2 separate regions of the Homo sapiens genome follow, and region 2 is linked to region 1. The links are contacts of gene promoters, found by promoter capture Hi-C in human tissues and cell types (Jung and others, 2019). All regions are on one chromosome and are shown on one strand. The core of a region is centred on a gene start or on the middle of the fragment in contact, and the rest is flanking DNA. Distances in the headings are between cores, read along the strand shown. Region 1 holds the start of TNFAIP8L1 (TNF alpha induced protein 8 like 1). Region 2 overlaps SH3GL1 (SH3 domain containing GRB2 like 1, endophilin A2).

Region 1 (7,322 bases), core at 2,589-5,088:
GCCTAGGATCACCTGGCAGGAGGTGCATCCAGCCCCTAAATGTGTCCCAATGCAACCCACTTTTTTTTTTTTTTTGAGACAGAGTCTCACTCTGTTGCCCAGGCTGGAGTGCAGCGGCGTGATCTCGGCTCACTGCAACCTCCGCCTCCTGGGTTCAGGTGATTCTCCTGCCTCAGCTTCCTGAGTAGCTGGTATTACAGACACGTGCCACCATGCCTGGGTAATTTTTGTATTTTTAGTAGAGATGGGGTTTCACCATGTTGGTCAGGCTGGTCTCCAACTCCTGACCTCAGGTGATCCACTTGCCTCAGCCTCCCAAAGTGCTGGGATTACATGAGCCACCCTGCCTGGCCTAACGCAACCCACTTCTTATCTCCCCCACAGCCTCCATCCTGGTCCCCTCGTCCCTCAGCACCATCTATCCCCATGCCCCCCGTCTGTCCTCCCTGTAGCAGCCAATGGGTGCCTGTGAGTACCTGAGTCAGGTTCCATCCTTCCCCTGCCCACCACCCTCCATGGCTCCCACCTCCCTTGGGGTCAAAGCCAAGTATTCCTGGCAGCCCATAAGATCCTGCGCACCCTGCCCTGTCCCCTCCCTGCCCTCCCCTCCTCCCTCTCTCCTCCTCCTCACTGCTCCAGCCCCACGGGCCTCCTTGCTGCTCCTCTACCATGCCAGGCGCCATCTTGCCCCAGGGCCTTTACACAACCTGTGCCCTCTGCCTGAGCTGCTCTTCTCCCAGGTCTCCACATGGCTGTTTCCTTCTTGTCATCCAGGTCTGGGTTTACATGGCCCCTCCTCAGGAAGCCCTCCCAGATCCCCCATCTATTTTATTTATTTTATGTGTATATTTTTAATTTTTTTTTTTTTTTTGAGATGGAGTCTCACACTCTGTCAACCCAGGCTGGAGAGCAGTGGTGCAATCTCGGCTCACTGCAACCTCTGCCTCTTGGGTTTAAGTGTTTCTCCTGCCTCAGCCTCCTGAGTAGCTGGATTACAGGCACCCACCACCACGCCCGCCTCATTTTTGTATTTTTAGTAGAGACAGGGTTTTGCCCTCTTGGCCAGGCTGGTCTCGAATTCCTGACCTCAGGTGATCCGGCCACCTCAGCCTCCCAAAGTGCTGGGATTACAGGCGTGAGCCACGGCGCCCAGCCAATTCTCTTCTTTTTCTTTGAGACAGGGTTTCACTCCTGTCGCCCAGGCTGAAGTGCAGTGGCATGAGCTCGGCTCACTGCAGCCTCAACCTCCCTGGGCTCAGGTGATCCTCCCACCTCAGCCTCCAGAGTGGCTGGGACTACAGGCCTGCGACACCACACCTGGCTAATTTTTTTTTCTTTGTTTTAAGTAGAGACAGGGTTTCACCATGTTGCCCAGGCTGGGAAATTCTCTAGATGGACCTGCAAGTTTTTGGTTATAAGGAAACTGAGTCACAGAGGGTCAGGAGCTTGCCTGTTTATAAAGCAGTGATGTGGCAGAATCAGAATTTGAACCCAGCCTTTAACCTAGTGCAATCCTTTCCTCATCCTAGTCAATGGCACATTTGGGGTTCAAGTCTCGTCTCTCCCAGAGCCCACCCCAGAGGGGAAGGATCGAAGCCTTAGGAAGCTTCTAGAAGTACTGTGTCCTGTAATCCCCTCCTCGGGCTTTTAACAATATCTTGTTGAATCTCCCCCACCCCTCAAAGCACCCTCCCTCCCCACAGTTATCTCAGCCCCACAAGAAAAAGGAGATGACCAGCCCCATTGGACAGATGGGGAAACTGAGGCCTAGAAGCTGGGGATTTACAAGATCCCAAGAACTCTGCCAGAGGTCCCTGCGTCAAAGCTCGAGCGGGTGTGATTCCAGGGAGGTCATCTGCTGAGGGGTGTCGGGAGATGCTGGGAAGGGGCAGGCATGCTGTGGAACTGGGCCGTTCCTGCCTCTCGCTCTGCCTCCTTGCCCTGCTCCCCGTCTGTAACACCTGAGCTGTACCTGGGCAAGTGTGAGTCATTTTTTAGCGTTGACGTCTCTCTGGGAGGAGTGTTCCCCTGTCAACGGCTGGAGTTTTGTCCTCAAGGCACCCTTTCGTGGCCCCATTGGACAGACAGGGACACTGAGGCCTCCGGAACCCACCATACTGAATTGTCAAGCAATCAAAAGACCCCTCACCCACCTGGGCTGACCCCTGGGGGAACGGGGATGAGGAAACTGAGGCTCTGGGGGCACCTGACCGTCGGTCCAAGGCCACACAGTGGGAGGGGCCGTACCGCGGGGCCTCAGACCTGCACCCGTCTGCAGAGCCACCCCACCATTGGAGCAGGGTTCAAGTCCCCCCCCCGGCCCCATATTCCCTGCAGGGGTCCAGGCACTCACCCACCACCTGTATCCCAGGCTGCTCCAGCCTCTGGCCAGTGCCCGATTCACCCAGGTGTTTGTGTGGCTGGAGACAGCCCTTTGTTCACGGTTTCCATAGGTACAGCGTCCCTGAGCGGCCCCTCCTCTGCCCCTCCCAGCCCTTGCCTGTGCAGGTCCTGGGTCCGGCCCATCCAGGGAGCTTGTTATGTTTCAAAGTTGGCGCCCTCGGACCTGCCGTAGTGGCAGAGGGCACAGCCCATGCAAAGGCCCTGAGAGAGGACCTCGCCTGGGGTGTTGGAGAAACAGGAGGAGGCCAGTGTGACTGGGGCAGAGCCACAGCGAGAGTCAGGCAGGTTATGAGCAGGGCCTGTATTCCTGCATCTGATCCCCCAGCAGCCCTCAACTTGGGGAGTTACGACCCACTCCTGTTTTACAGATGAGGAAACTGAGGCTCCGCAGAATTGAAAAACTGGTTCAAGATATCATGCGGGTGGCAGAGCTCAAACCTAGATTGGTCCAAGCTCCGCCACCACTGGGCTGGCCCCCCTGGGGCCTCCCAAGGCGTTCATCGCCTCCAGCTGAGCTGGGACTGGCTCAGGAAATAAACTCTGGCGGCCTGTTTACACCTGGGGCTGCTCCTCCACCAGCCCTTCCCCCCTCCATAGAGAAGGTGCTGGGAAATGTGAGGATGCAGAGAAAACAGATTCTGTCCTGCCTCTGTCCCCACTTCCCTGGACAAACATTGGAAGCATTGGCCTCTTTCTAGGCCTTAGTTTCCCATCCCAGGAAATGGGCCTAGTTCGACTTCACAGAAAAGGCCAGGAGGCGGCAGGTGTCCTTCAGATCACCTGCCAATTACCTTAGCAGCGACGGTCCCAGTTCACAGCTGGCAAAACTGAGGCCAAGTCCCCACAGGCCACTTGGGAGCTCATTAGGGGCCAGTCTGGGTGGGCCCGGGCTGGCCTAGGCCTGGCTCCCCGCCACCGATGCCTGGACCGATGCCTGGTTTAGCTAGAAGCTACAGTCATGCCCACCTCCGCACGGCTGGCCCAGCTGCCCACCGCCTGGAATGCCCTCAGGGTTCTGGAATCTGGCCTGAGCACCTGCGGCCCTACAGTTAAAGGGGGCAGAGTCCACTAGAGTCCACATGGGGGATGGGGGTGCTGGTCCCAGAGCAGAGCCCCACGCCAAGGGGGGCAATTGAGACTCAATCTGTCTCCCCCTAACCTATACAGCGAGAGTGACAGAGAGACAGACGGAAACTGAGGCAGGAATGTAGACGGACAGGCGGTGGGGTGCAGAAGCATTAAGGGGCGGGAGAGACAGAGGGCGGCCAGGTGGCCCCCGAGATGCGCTGAAATGGGGGGCGCCCCGGCACTGCTCGCTCACCTACTCTCGAAGCAGAGTCCGTACGTCCAACCGTCGGGGGTCCGTCCAGCCGCCTCCGTGGGCCGGGGCCGTTGCCGCGGCGGTGGGAGCAGCGCCGGAGCCGGGGCCGGGGCCGGGGCGGGGCGGGCAGCGCGGCCCCGCCCTCCACTCGCCTCGCCCCTCGGCAGGCCACGCCCTCCACTCGCCCCGCCCGCGCGGAAGGGACCGGAGAGTTGCCAGGCCTGGGGGGCGGGCCGAGCGCTCCGGATTAGCCAATGACAGGGCGGGCAATGTACGAAAAGGCCAATGGGAGCAGGGCACTGCGACGGGGGGGAAGTGGGGGGAAGGGGCGGAGCCTGGGGGCGGGGTCAGGCGGCTCTGGGGGATTCCTCCGGAATCGCGAAGGGGCCCGGATGCGGGGGCGAGGCCGTCGTGGGGGTGCCGGCCACAGAAAAGGGAAGAGATAAGAGTACGAGACAGACAGAGAACCTGGGGAGGGAGGCACAGAGACACCAACAGGAAGAGACCAGAGAGCCAAAAGGCAAAACAGACCAACCACGTGGTTCTGCACGGGCCCCTTCCTCCTTCTGGGGCTAGTTTACCCGCCTGGGTAATAGGAATTTCGGCAGAAGCGTGTTTCTCAAAGTACGGCCTCGGGGAACCCTTCGCGTCAGAAAGATCTGAGAGTCCATTTTAAAATGCAGATTCCAACTAGGTGTGGTGCCTCACGCCTGGAATCCCAGCACTTTGGGAGGCCAAGGCAGGAGGATCCCTTGAGCCCAGGAGTTTGAAACCAGCCTGGGCAACCTAGGGAGACCCTGTCTCTACAAAAAAAAAAAAAAAAAGAAAGAAAGAAAAAGAAGAAGATCAAAATAAGTTAAAATTTTAAAAATACAGAGTTCTGTGCCACAAGAAGGGATGAATCTAACCCAGGGTTGTGGGGCTATAGATGAATCTTTGGGGTGAGGTGGAGGGCTCCTGGAGACCTCATCAGAGGATCCCCAGGTCCAGCCTCGATTTCCGTAGGAATGAGCCTGCAGGACACACAGGAGCCTCCCGGCTGCGCAGCGCCAGCTGGGGTCCCCCGGGGAGGATGCAGCTGTGAGTCCTGGGAACCAGGCCCTGGAGCTGCTCCCAGGTCCCCTGCAGCACCATTTCCGCCCTGCAGCCCAACTCTGGGTCCCGGTTGCAGCTAGGGCCTAGGGAGCCCATAGCAACCTCGCTGCTTCTTCCTCCAGGAAGCCAGACAACAAATTGTTGAGGGCCTGTTGTGTGTCCTGACCTGCACACGGGATTCAGGAAGACCGAGGCACAGGCCTCAGGAGGCAAAAGTAAGTTAAATATCTCATTGGCTGGGCCCGGTGGCTCACCCCTGTAATCCCAGCACTTTGGGAGGCCGAGGTGGGCGGATCACCTGAGGTCAGGAGTTTGAGACCAGCCTGGACAACATCGTGGAACCCCGTCTCTACTAAAAATACAAAAATTAGCCGGGTGTGGTGGCACATGCCTGTAATCCCAGCTACTCAGGAGGCTGAGGCAGGGGAATCGCTTGAACTCTGGAGGCAGAGGTTGCAGTGAGCCAAGATCGGGCCACTGCACTCCAGCCGGGGCGACAGAGCAAAATTCCATCTCAAAAAATAAAACATACAAAAAAAAAAAATTAGCTGGTCGTGGTGGTGCACGCCTGTAGTCCCAGCTACTCGGGAGGCTGAGGTGCTAGAATTGCTTGAACCCCAGAGGCAGAGATTGCAGTGAGCCGAGATCGCGGCACTGCACTCCAGCCTGGGCTACAAAGCAAGAGTCCATCTCAAAAAATAAAAAATAAAGCAAAAATATGAAAAAATTAGCCAGGAGTGGTGGTGCACGCCTGTAGTCCCAGCTACTTGGGAGACTAAGGCACGAGAATCACTTGAACCCAGGAGGCAGAGGTTGCAGTGAGCCGAGATCGCGCCACTGCACTCCAGCCTGGACGACAGAGCGAGACTCTGTTTCAAGAAACAAAACAAAACACCTTCTTATTTCATTTTGGAGGAGGAGACTGAGGCCCAGAGAGAGGAAGTAACTTGCCTGAGGTCACACAGGCACAAGGTGGTAGAGTCAGGAGTGACTGTCCCATTTCACAGATGACGAAATGGAACCCCAGAGGGAGGAAGGGATAGGTTCCAGGCCACACAGCCAGATGAGGCAGAGATGGGATTAGGACCTGATTAGGTCTGACTTTGGTGTGGTGTGTACAGCTCCTCTCGCAACCCCAGCATCAAGGGGGTCTCCCCATCAGGGCAGGAGGACTGGAGGCATCTGAGCCTAGCATGATTTCACCTTTTTTCTTTCTTTCTTTTTTTTTAGACAGGGTCTCGATTTGTCACCCAGGCTGGAATGCAGTGGTGCAGTCACAGCTTACTGCAGTCTCAACTTCCTGGGTTCAAGCAATCCTTCTGCCTCAGCCTCCCAAGTAGCTGAAATCACAGGTGTGCACCACCAAGCTCGGCTAATTTTTATTTTTTTAAATAGAGATAGGGGGTGTCTCACTATGTTGCCCAGGCTGGTCTCGAACTCCTAGCCTCAAGCGATCCTCCTGCTTCTGCCTCCCAAAGCGCTGGGATTACAGGCAAGAACCACCACACCTGGTCTCTTTTCTGTATCAGATAAGAAGGTTGGGACTCGGGAGGGCTAGGGTTCAGTGGGTGTTAGGGGTGGGGGAGGGATGATCTTGGCCGGGAATGCAGGCTTACTGGGTGATGGGGCTTAGTGAGAATAGGGCCTCTGCTGGGATTGGGCTCTGTCTACAGTAAGGGTGCAGCCCAGGGTTAGGGTTCAGCCTAGAGTTGGAGACTCTATCGAGGGTCCAGGCTCAGCCCAGAGTCGGGATTTAGAAGGGGTCGCAGGCTCTATTCCGTATCAGACCTCAGCCTAGAGGGGGGCTCAGCCCTGAGTTGGGAGCTCAGGTCGATGGAGACTCTATTGGAGTTTGAGGCTTGGCTCAGGACCAGGGCTCAAAGACAGATCAGAGGCTCTATCCAAAGTTGGGGTCTCAGCCCAGGTCCCAGCTCTACTGGGATTGAGGTTTAGCCCAAGGCGGGAGCTCAGCCCAGTGTCGCGGTTCCTTAGGAGGTCGGGGATCGATCCAGAGTTGGGGGCTCTATAACCCGGTAAAGCTCAGCCGGGTGGGAGTCGGGTCCGGAGTCCCGAGGGTCCGGGAGTCGCCGCCGCGCCGTTTCCGATCATGCCCGGCAGAGGGCGCGCTCTGCCCACAGCCCGGGCTGGCGGCGCCTTCGCTTCCCCGGAACCCGCGGCCGGGGCGGGCGGGATCTGCGTGCGGGGCGGGGTCTCCAGGCCCAAGTCTCCCCGCGGAGCCTAGACCCACCAGAGTCACCCGCACCCCCAGGCCAGGCCTCGCACCCTGCCGGGCTGTGCAACCTGCAGCTAGCGACCCTCTTCTCCGGGCCTCTGCCCCGGCCCAGTGCCATGGGATCCCGTTTGGGGGAGCTATGGAACCTTGAATGTGGGGTCGATGGGACTCCGTTTGCGGGGATGATGAGACCCTGGTTGGGATGGGGGATGGGATTCCGTTTATGGGGTGATGGGATCCTGGTTGCGGGGGGACGATGATATCCCAGTT
Region 2 (7,322 bases), core at 1,238-3,737, 280 kb after region 1:
GAGTGGTGCTCTCTGGAAGCCACGCCCACCGTCCCTGGAGGCCACACCTCAACACAGGCAGGGCAGGTCCAGGCCCTGCATGTGCTGAGTGCCGGGGACGTACAGTGGCCCCCACAGCTTTCCAGCTGCAGAGGTGCAGGAGACTGCACAGACCAACCCATCCAGCACTGGCCAGCAGCTGATAGGGCCCCTTCCTGTAGCTCCAGACCTTCCCCAACTCAAGCCAGCTGCTTCCCCAGGGCCTGGACCCCCCAGCATCTGTCCTTCCACCTGTTAAGGGCAAACCTAGGCCCTTTTAGGAGCATTGGAGGGTCTGGTTTAACGTCCAGCATCGATTCGGATTTTAGGATCCTTTGTTTTGCCCTGAGTTCCAATTTCCGGGCCCTGGGCTTAGAGTGTTGGGGGGCTGTTAGAAGTTGGGATGGGGCCAAGTGTGGTGGCTCATGCCTGTAATCCCAACACTTTGGGAGGCCAAGGCAGGTGGATCACCTGAGATCGGGAATTCGAGACCAGCAAGACCAATATGGAGAAACCCCACCCCGCTTCTACTAAAAAAAAAAAAATATATATATATATATATACACACACACACACACACACACACACACACACAATTAGCCGGGTGTGGTAGTGCATGCCTGTAACCCCAGCTACTCGGGAGGCTGAGGCAGGAGAATCACTTGAACCCAGGAGGTGGAGGTTGCAGTGAGCCGAGACTATGAAAAAACAAAACAAAACAAAACAAAACAAAAACCGGGTGCGGTGGCTCACGCCTGTAATCCCAACACTTTGGGAGGCCGAGGCGGGCGGATCACAAGGTCAGGAGTTCGAGACCGGTGTGGTCTATATGGTGAAACCCCGTCTCTATTAAAAATACAAAAATTAGCTGGATGTGGTGGCAGGCCCCTGTAATCCCCCTTACTCAGGAGGCTGAGACAGGAGAATTGCTTGAACCTGGGAGGCAGAGGTTGCAGTGAGCTGAGATCATGCCACTGCACTGCAGCCTGGGCAACAGCGAGACTTCATCTCAAAGAAGTTGGAAAGGATCCAGGTGTGGGGGTGAACGCCTGTGGTCCCGGCTACTTGGGAGGCTGAGGTGCCAGCATGGCTTGAGCCCAGTTTGAGGCCTGCAGTGAGCTGGTACAGCGCCACTGCGTTCCAGCCTGTGAAACGCTATTTCAAAAACAAAGGCTGAGGAGTGTCTCAGTCTAGTGGTCCCAGGCCCGGTATGATGGCTTCCCCCACCACTTCTCCACAGGTGACGCATTGCTGGATGCCGGCGAGTCCATGAAGCGCCTGGCAGAGGTGAAGGACTCCCTGGACATCGAGGTCAAGCAGAACTTCATTGACCCCCTCCAGAACCTGTGCGAGAAAGACCTGAAGGAGATCCAGGTGCTGCTCCTGCGCCAGCCTGGGGCCTGTCCCTTCCCCCTGCCGGATGGGGCAGCCCCATTCCTGCCACCCTCACCTCCAGCCTCGGCACTGCCCTCTGGGTCTCAGGCAGGCAGGATCCCCAGTGGTGCAGGGACAGTGGGTCAAAGCCATGCGTGGGGCGGCCCTCTGGCCGCTACTGGTGTGACCCATGTCCCCCACGTCTCCAGCACCACCTGAAGAAACTGGAGGGCCGCCGCCTGGACTTTGACTACAAGAAGAAGCGGCAGGGCAAGATCCCCGATGAGGAGCTACGCCAGGCGCTGGAGAAGTTCGAGGAGTCCAAGGAGGTGGCAGAAACCAGCATGCACAACCTCCTGGAGACTGACGTGAGTAGCTCGGGGTGTCACATCCTGAGAAGACCTATGCCCTTGGGAGGCCGGGGTGGTGCCTCAAGGGAGCTGGAGGACAGATCGGCACCTACCTGGCCGCTGCAGCAGGGGAGGTGGAGGGTATGGGCCCCAGTCCCCTGTCCCCTCTCAGCCCCCTTGCCTCCTGTGGCTTCACCTCGGGAGTCAGGGAAGGCACAGGACAGTGGCACTGGCAGGAGCCCCTGAGCCCTACTGTCCCCACAGATCGAGCAGGTGAGTCAGCTCTCGGCCCTGGTGGATGCACAGCTGGACTACCACCGGCAGGCCGTGCAGATCCTGGACGAGCTGGCGGAGAAGCTCAAGCGCAGGTGAGCCCAGGGCCTTGGTCTCTCCAGAGTCTGGGCTGCCATGCGCCCTCTGCCAGCGCAAGTGGGCAGCACACCTCGCTGTGGGGTGAGCACATGGCAGAGCAGCATCCTGGATTCTTCCTGGGGACTGAGTGGAAAGGCCTGGGGGGCCGCGAGGTCAGAGGAGCTGGGGCTCTGAGAACTCTGAGTCAACACCCAGCCCTGCCCCGATGCAGGCCCCGGGGACTCCCTCCCTGGCTGCACGTTGCTGCTGCCACAGGAACACCCAGGCTCCCCTCCCTGAATGCAGAGGCCAGACCTGCTTCAGGGGCCTTGGCGTATGTGGGGCGCCGTCCGTGGTGGGGAATTGGGGGAGGAGGCAGGGGATGCGACTGGGGGTGTTGTAGGTAGATGCTGTGGCAGGCCCCAGCTGCTTGGCAATCTCTGGGATGCCTCCAAGGTGGGGGTCCAGGCTGGAGGCCCTCTGGGTAGACATCCCAGTCTAGCTGTGTCCCAGGGTCCATGTGTCACAACCCCACTGACGGCCTCTTCCTGCAGTCCCAGGCCAGGTCATTAGGCAGCAGCATAAATACAAGAGTGGGGCTGCCTCGGCCGTGACACGGGCTCGGTCCACTCACGCCTCTCCCTTCACAGGATGCGGGAAGCTTCCTCACGCCCTAAGCGGGAGTATAAGCCCAAGCCCCGGGAGCCCTTTGACCTTGGAGAGCCTGAGCAGTCCAACGGGGGCTTCCCCTGCACCACAGCCCCCAAGATCGCAGGTAATGGGGCATGGAGCCCTCTTGCGGAGGCAAATGCCAGCGGGTGGGAGTGGCCAAGGGCTGGCCCTGTCCTGGGTCTCTGAGCGCCAGACTCCTGGGTGCAGCTCTCAGCCGTGCTCCATCTGGACCGCCAAGGCAGACGGGAAGGGCTGGCCCCAGCCTTCTGCAGAAGGGGCCCTGCCCGACCGTTTTGAGCCCACAGCCTCCTCGTTTTGCTTGTGTTTAGCTTCATCGTCTTTCCGATCTTCCGACAAGCCCATCCGGACCCCTAGCCGGAGCATGCGTGAGTGTTCCCAGGCCCGCCTCGACCTCAGTGCTGCCTTCTCGGCCATTCGGGGAGGGTGTTTCTCCTCCCGCCCTGTTCTCTGCCCATCTCAAGCAGGGAGGGGCCAGGCTCGTGCAGCAGTAGGGGGCACAGGCCCCACAGCCTGCAAGATGCCACCCCTCTGGGTCTCAGCCTCACAGTGTGAATGAGGGATTGCCAAGGGCACTAGCCCAGCTAGCTCTAGGCTGTGTGGTGGCTACAAGGGCTTGAGGGCATCTGGTCACTCCCTGTCACCGCAGCAGCACCGGGTGTCCCCAGCACTTCCCAGGAGTAGCTTTGGTGACCACTTAAACCAAGCTTCTCCCATCCTCCCTCCTGGGTGGCAGTAGAGGCCGGACCCCAGAAGTGGCAGGGGCAGGGGGTGGCCCAGGCAGGGCAGAGGGGAGGCCCATGCCCACCCACACGCTCCAGGTCACAGCAGGTCTGAGACCCCAGACTGGGCGGGGTGAGGCGTAGCAGCCCCAGCCCCACAGCCCGCTCCCGCCCCCAGCGCCCCTGGACCAGCCGAGCTGCAAGGCGCTGTACGACTTCGAGCCCGAGAACGACGGGGAGCTGGGCTTCCATGAGGGCGACGTCATCACGCTGACCAACCAGATCGATGAGAACTGGTACGAGGGCATGCTGGACGGCCAGTCGGGCTTCTTCCCGCTCAGCTACGTGGAGGTGCTTGTGCCCCTGCCGCAGTGACTCACCCGTGTCCCCGCCCCGCCCCTCCGTCCACACTGGCCGGCACCCCCTGCTGGGTCTCCTGCATTCCACGGAGCCCCTGCTGCCAGGGCGGTGTCTGAGCCTGCCGGCGCCACCTGGGCCCCGGCCCTTGAGGTACTCCCTGAGCAGGACCCCACACTTGGGTGGGGGGGCTTATCTGGGTGGGTGGGGATGCCTGTTTACACTAGCGCTGACTCCCAACGGTGACGGCTCCCTTCCCCACTCCATGGCGCCAGCCTCCTCCCCCGCTCCCCAACTTCTCGCCCAGCTGGCCGAGGCGGGGCAACACTAAGGTGCTCTTAGAAACACTAATGTTCCTCTGGGGCAGCCCCCACCTCCGTCCTGACCCGACGGGGGCCCGGCCCACTGCCTACCCTCGAGTCCCGCAGCCTTAACAGGATGGGATCGAGGGTCCCCATGGGGTGGCTCAGAGATAGGACCCTGGTTTTAAATCCCTCCCAGCCTGGTGCTGGTGATGGGCCCTGGCCCTACTCCAGGGCCAATGCACCCCCGCCTCACACACGCACTCCTTCTCCTCAAGGCCAGGGCAGAGGGCCTCACCGCCTCCCGGGCCTGCTGTCAGCTTGCAGCCCGGGGACAGAGGCCAGCTGGGATCTGCCTGAGGACAGAGAACATGGTCTCCTGCAGGGCCCTGCCTCCCAAGCCCCGCCCTCAGAAAGCCAAGTACCTTTTCAGCTTTTTAACTGCCCCCATCCCAACCCAGGGAGGCCTGTGTCACTCTGGCACAAGCTGCCACCACCAGCCACCCACACCCACCCCAGCACACCTCACACGGGACCACAGCCGCGCTGCCGAGGGCCAAGCACAAAGGTTCCAGTGAGCGCATGTCCCAGCCCCTGGTGGCCAGGCTCCCCTTGCTGAGCCGCTGCCACTTCACCCTGTGGGAAGTGGCCCCAGCCATCTCCTCTAGACCAAGGCAGGCAGCCCCGACATCTGCTTCCTCTATCGCCCAATGCAAAATCGATGAAATGGGGAGTTCTCTGGGCCAGGCCACATTCACATTCCCCTCCCCCTGTGGTCCAGTGAAGCCTCCGGACCCCAGGCTCTGCTCTGCCCTGCCCTGCACCCCCCTCGTCAGAAGTACATGAGGGGCGCAGAGATGAGCACACAGCTTTGGGCACGGTCCAGGGCAAACTGAAATGTACGCCTGAATTTTGTAAACAGAAGTATTAAATGTCTCTTTCTACAGCCCCTTGCCTCGTCTTGGTGCAGGGGTGGGCCTGCCACCCACCGCCTTCCTGAGGGGCCGGCTCCAAAGCCACACACACCCCAGGAGGTCCCTCCAGCACCCCAGGTGCTCCTGAGCCCAAGGTGGGTGGGACTGGCCCTGAGGCTTTTGTGCCAGTTCCCAGGTGCAGGGGCTGAGGGGTATCCTGGAAGTTAATGCCCTGCCCTGGAAGTGAGGAAGCTGGGGTGATGGTACCAGCCTGGGCACCCAGCCACCCTCACCCCAGCCTTGGGGAGACCAGCGTGGCTGGCTGCTGCTTCCGTTTCTTTATTACCTGAGCCCATCCGGACCCTCAAGACAACTGGAGCCCACCCTGCCCTGGAAGGCTCAGCTCCCCTGCTTGAGGACGCCGCACACCTGTTCCAGGACGTGACACAGGCTCTGGTCCTTGGGCGTCCTGCTGGCCAAGGAGATCTGAAACGAGGGGGCTGGGCCTCAGGCTGTGCCCGGGGGTCCTAGCCAGCCCTGCGCCTCACAGTCCACCGTGCAAGTCCAGCATCCTGACTGAGCCCCCCTGAGACCGAGGCACAGGGCTGGGGTCCCGCAGCACAGCCTGCTGCTTACCCAGTGGGGCAGTATGTAACCGAGGGCCTGGCTCCCAGGGGCAGCGGTGCTGTGTGGAGGGGTGGGGCTTATGTGCACACTCCCGATCCTGCCCCCACTTCAGCCCCTCCCTGCCTGGTTCCAGACACCCATGGGGACACCACAGCCTCCACAGCTAGCCGAGAGCTGAGCAGAATGAGTCCCTTTCTATGCCAGGTGGAGGGAAACCAGGAACCACTACCCTAAGACACTCAGGGGTGGCCAGGACCCTGGGCCCTCTGCAGGGGAGCCACTCCCAAAACCCGCTGCCAGGACCTCATCCGGCACTGCCGGAGCTTAAAGCTCCACAGTCCAATCAAATCTGGCCTGCACCCTGCTGGGGTGGCCACGGGGTGACCAGGGTCACCAGTCTGCCAGCTGGGCTGTCTCAGGCCCCTGAGGCCCACGGGGCTCATTGCTGCCACCTTTTAGGCTGCCCAGGGGGCCTCTCCTGGGGCCCCGTTAGGAGGTCTGCGGGGACTTGGGGCTCACCTTAAGCTTGTCGAGGTAGGTGTGCTCCTGGCTCCAGGGTTCCTGGAGCCTCACGAGGTCAGGGGAACCCTTGTAGAACTCCACCAGCAGCATCTACAGGACAGAGGAGCATGGACTCCCAGGCTCCCTCCAAGCCTGAGGTACCTCAGCGCCTCTCCTGGGGTTCCAGTCTCAGGCAGCCCTGAGACATGACCCCATCACTAACAAACCAACCACAAAGAGATCACGAGTGACCTTAGCCAGAGGGCTCACCTAGCTTAGGTCCAGGAGGGCTCTCTCGAGGGGGAGGCAGCAGCGTTGCCCAAGTGGCTGCCACGAGAGGTCCACCTGGACCTGCACTCACCGAGCCCAGTTCTCCAGAACCACGCGGGCCTGACGTGGCCCCCTGGTTCGGCCTCATCCCCAGCAGTGACACCTGTGAGGTCACAGGTTTGACGAACTAGTTTAGGTTTTGTTGGGTTTTTTCCTTGAGGTAGGGTCTCACTCTGTGGCCCAGACTGGAGCGCAGTGGCGTGATCTCGGCTCACTGTAACCTCCACCTCCCGGGTTCAAGAGCTTGTCCTGCCTCAGCCTCCCAAGTAGCTAGGACTATAGGCACCCGCCACCACTCCTGGCTAGCTTTTCTATCTTGGTAGTGACAGGGTTTCGCCATGTTGGCCAGACTAGTCTCGAACTCCTGACCTCAGGTGATCCACCCACCTCAGCCTCCCAAAGTGCTGGGATTACAGGCGTGAGCCACTATGTCTGCCTTAGTTTAGTGTTTTAAATGCATGTTGAACACACAATTTTTAAGTGTTCATCCAGTTACCACCCAAAGTCCCTGGGGTTTCTCTACTGGACAGCCTGGCAGAAGAGGCCAGTGCCTTAGAGAACAGCAGGTGGGGAGGTGAGGGAGGGCAGAAGTTGGAGGGACCCTGGCAAGGGCCTGGACTCTGTCCTGAGTGATGGAAGAAGCCCTAACCCAGGCCCCCAAGGCGCCACCAGCCATAGCTTCCCAAGCCCACCGGTGGGAAGCAGACCAACGCATCGTGTGCCCAGCTGCGCACTGCCAGCCCCTGCCTGCCCGCCCCGCAGCGAGCTCACCATCTCGTGAAGGAT

What was found. Contacts are between HindIII fragments. The study calls those that stand out against the background at their distance.
Region 2: a fragment that was not itself captured here is called in contact with the fragment with the promoter of TNFAIP8L1 in region 1 in 1 of the 25 tissues and cell types used here (dorsolateral prefrontal cortex).

The regions. Positions count from the first base shown.
Region 1 is chr19:4,636,032-4,643,353 of GRCh38, reverse strand. TNFAIP8L1 (TNF alpha induced protein 8 like 1) reads right to left here and starts at 3,838. Exons shown (of 2, transcript NM_152362.3): 1 at 3,725-3,838. RefSeq lists an enhancer at 2,838-3,837 and silencers at 3,738-4,177, 4,238-4,317, 6,907-7,086. The HindIII fragment of the contact is 40,660 bases long and covers 1-7,322 here.
Region 2 is chr19:4,358,158-4,365,479 of GRCh38, reverse strand. SH3GL1 (SH3 domain containing GRB2 like 1, endophilin A2) reads left to right here. Exons shown (of 10, transcript NM_003025.4): 5 at 1,259-1,392; 6 at 1,602-1,760; 7 at 2,007-2,110; 8 at 2,744-2,868; 9 at 3,095-3,151; 10 at 3,684-5,110. The coding sequence ends at 3,880. MPND (MPN domain containing) reads right to left here. Exons shown (of 13, transcript NM_001300862.2): 11 at 7,308-7,322; 12 at 6,225-6,317; 13 at 5,402-5,564. The coding sequence ends at 5,478. Among named protein-coding and RNA genes, the nearest start is that of MPND, 18 kb to the right of the region's middle. The HindIII fragment of the contact is 4,746 bases long and covers 115-4,860 here.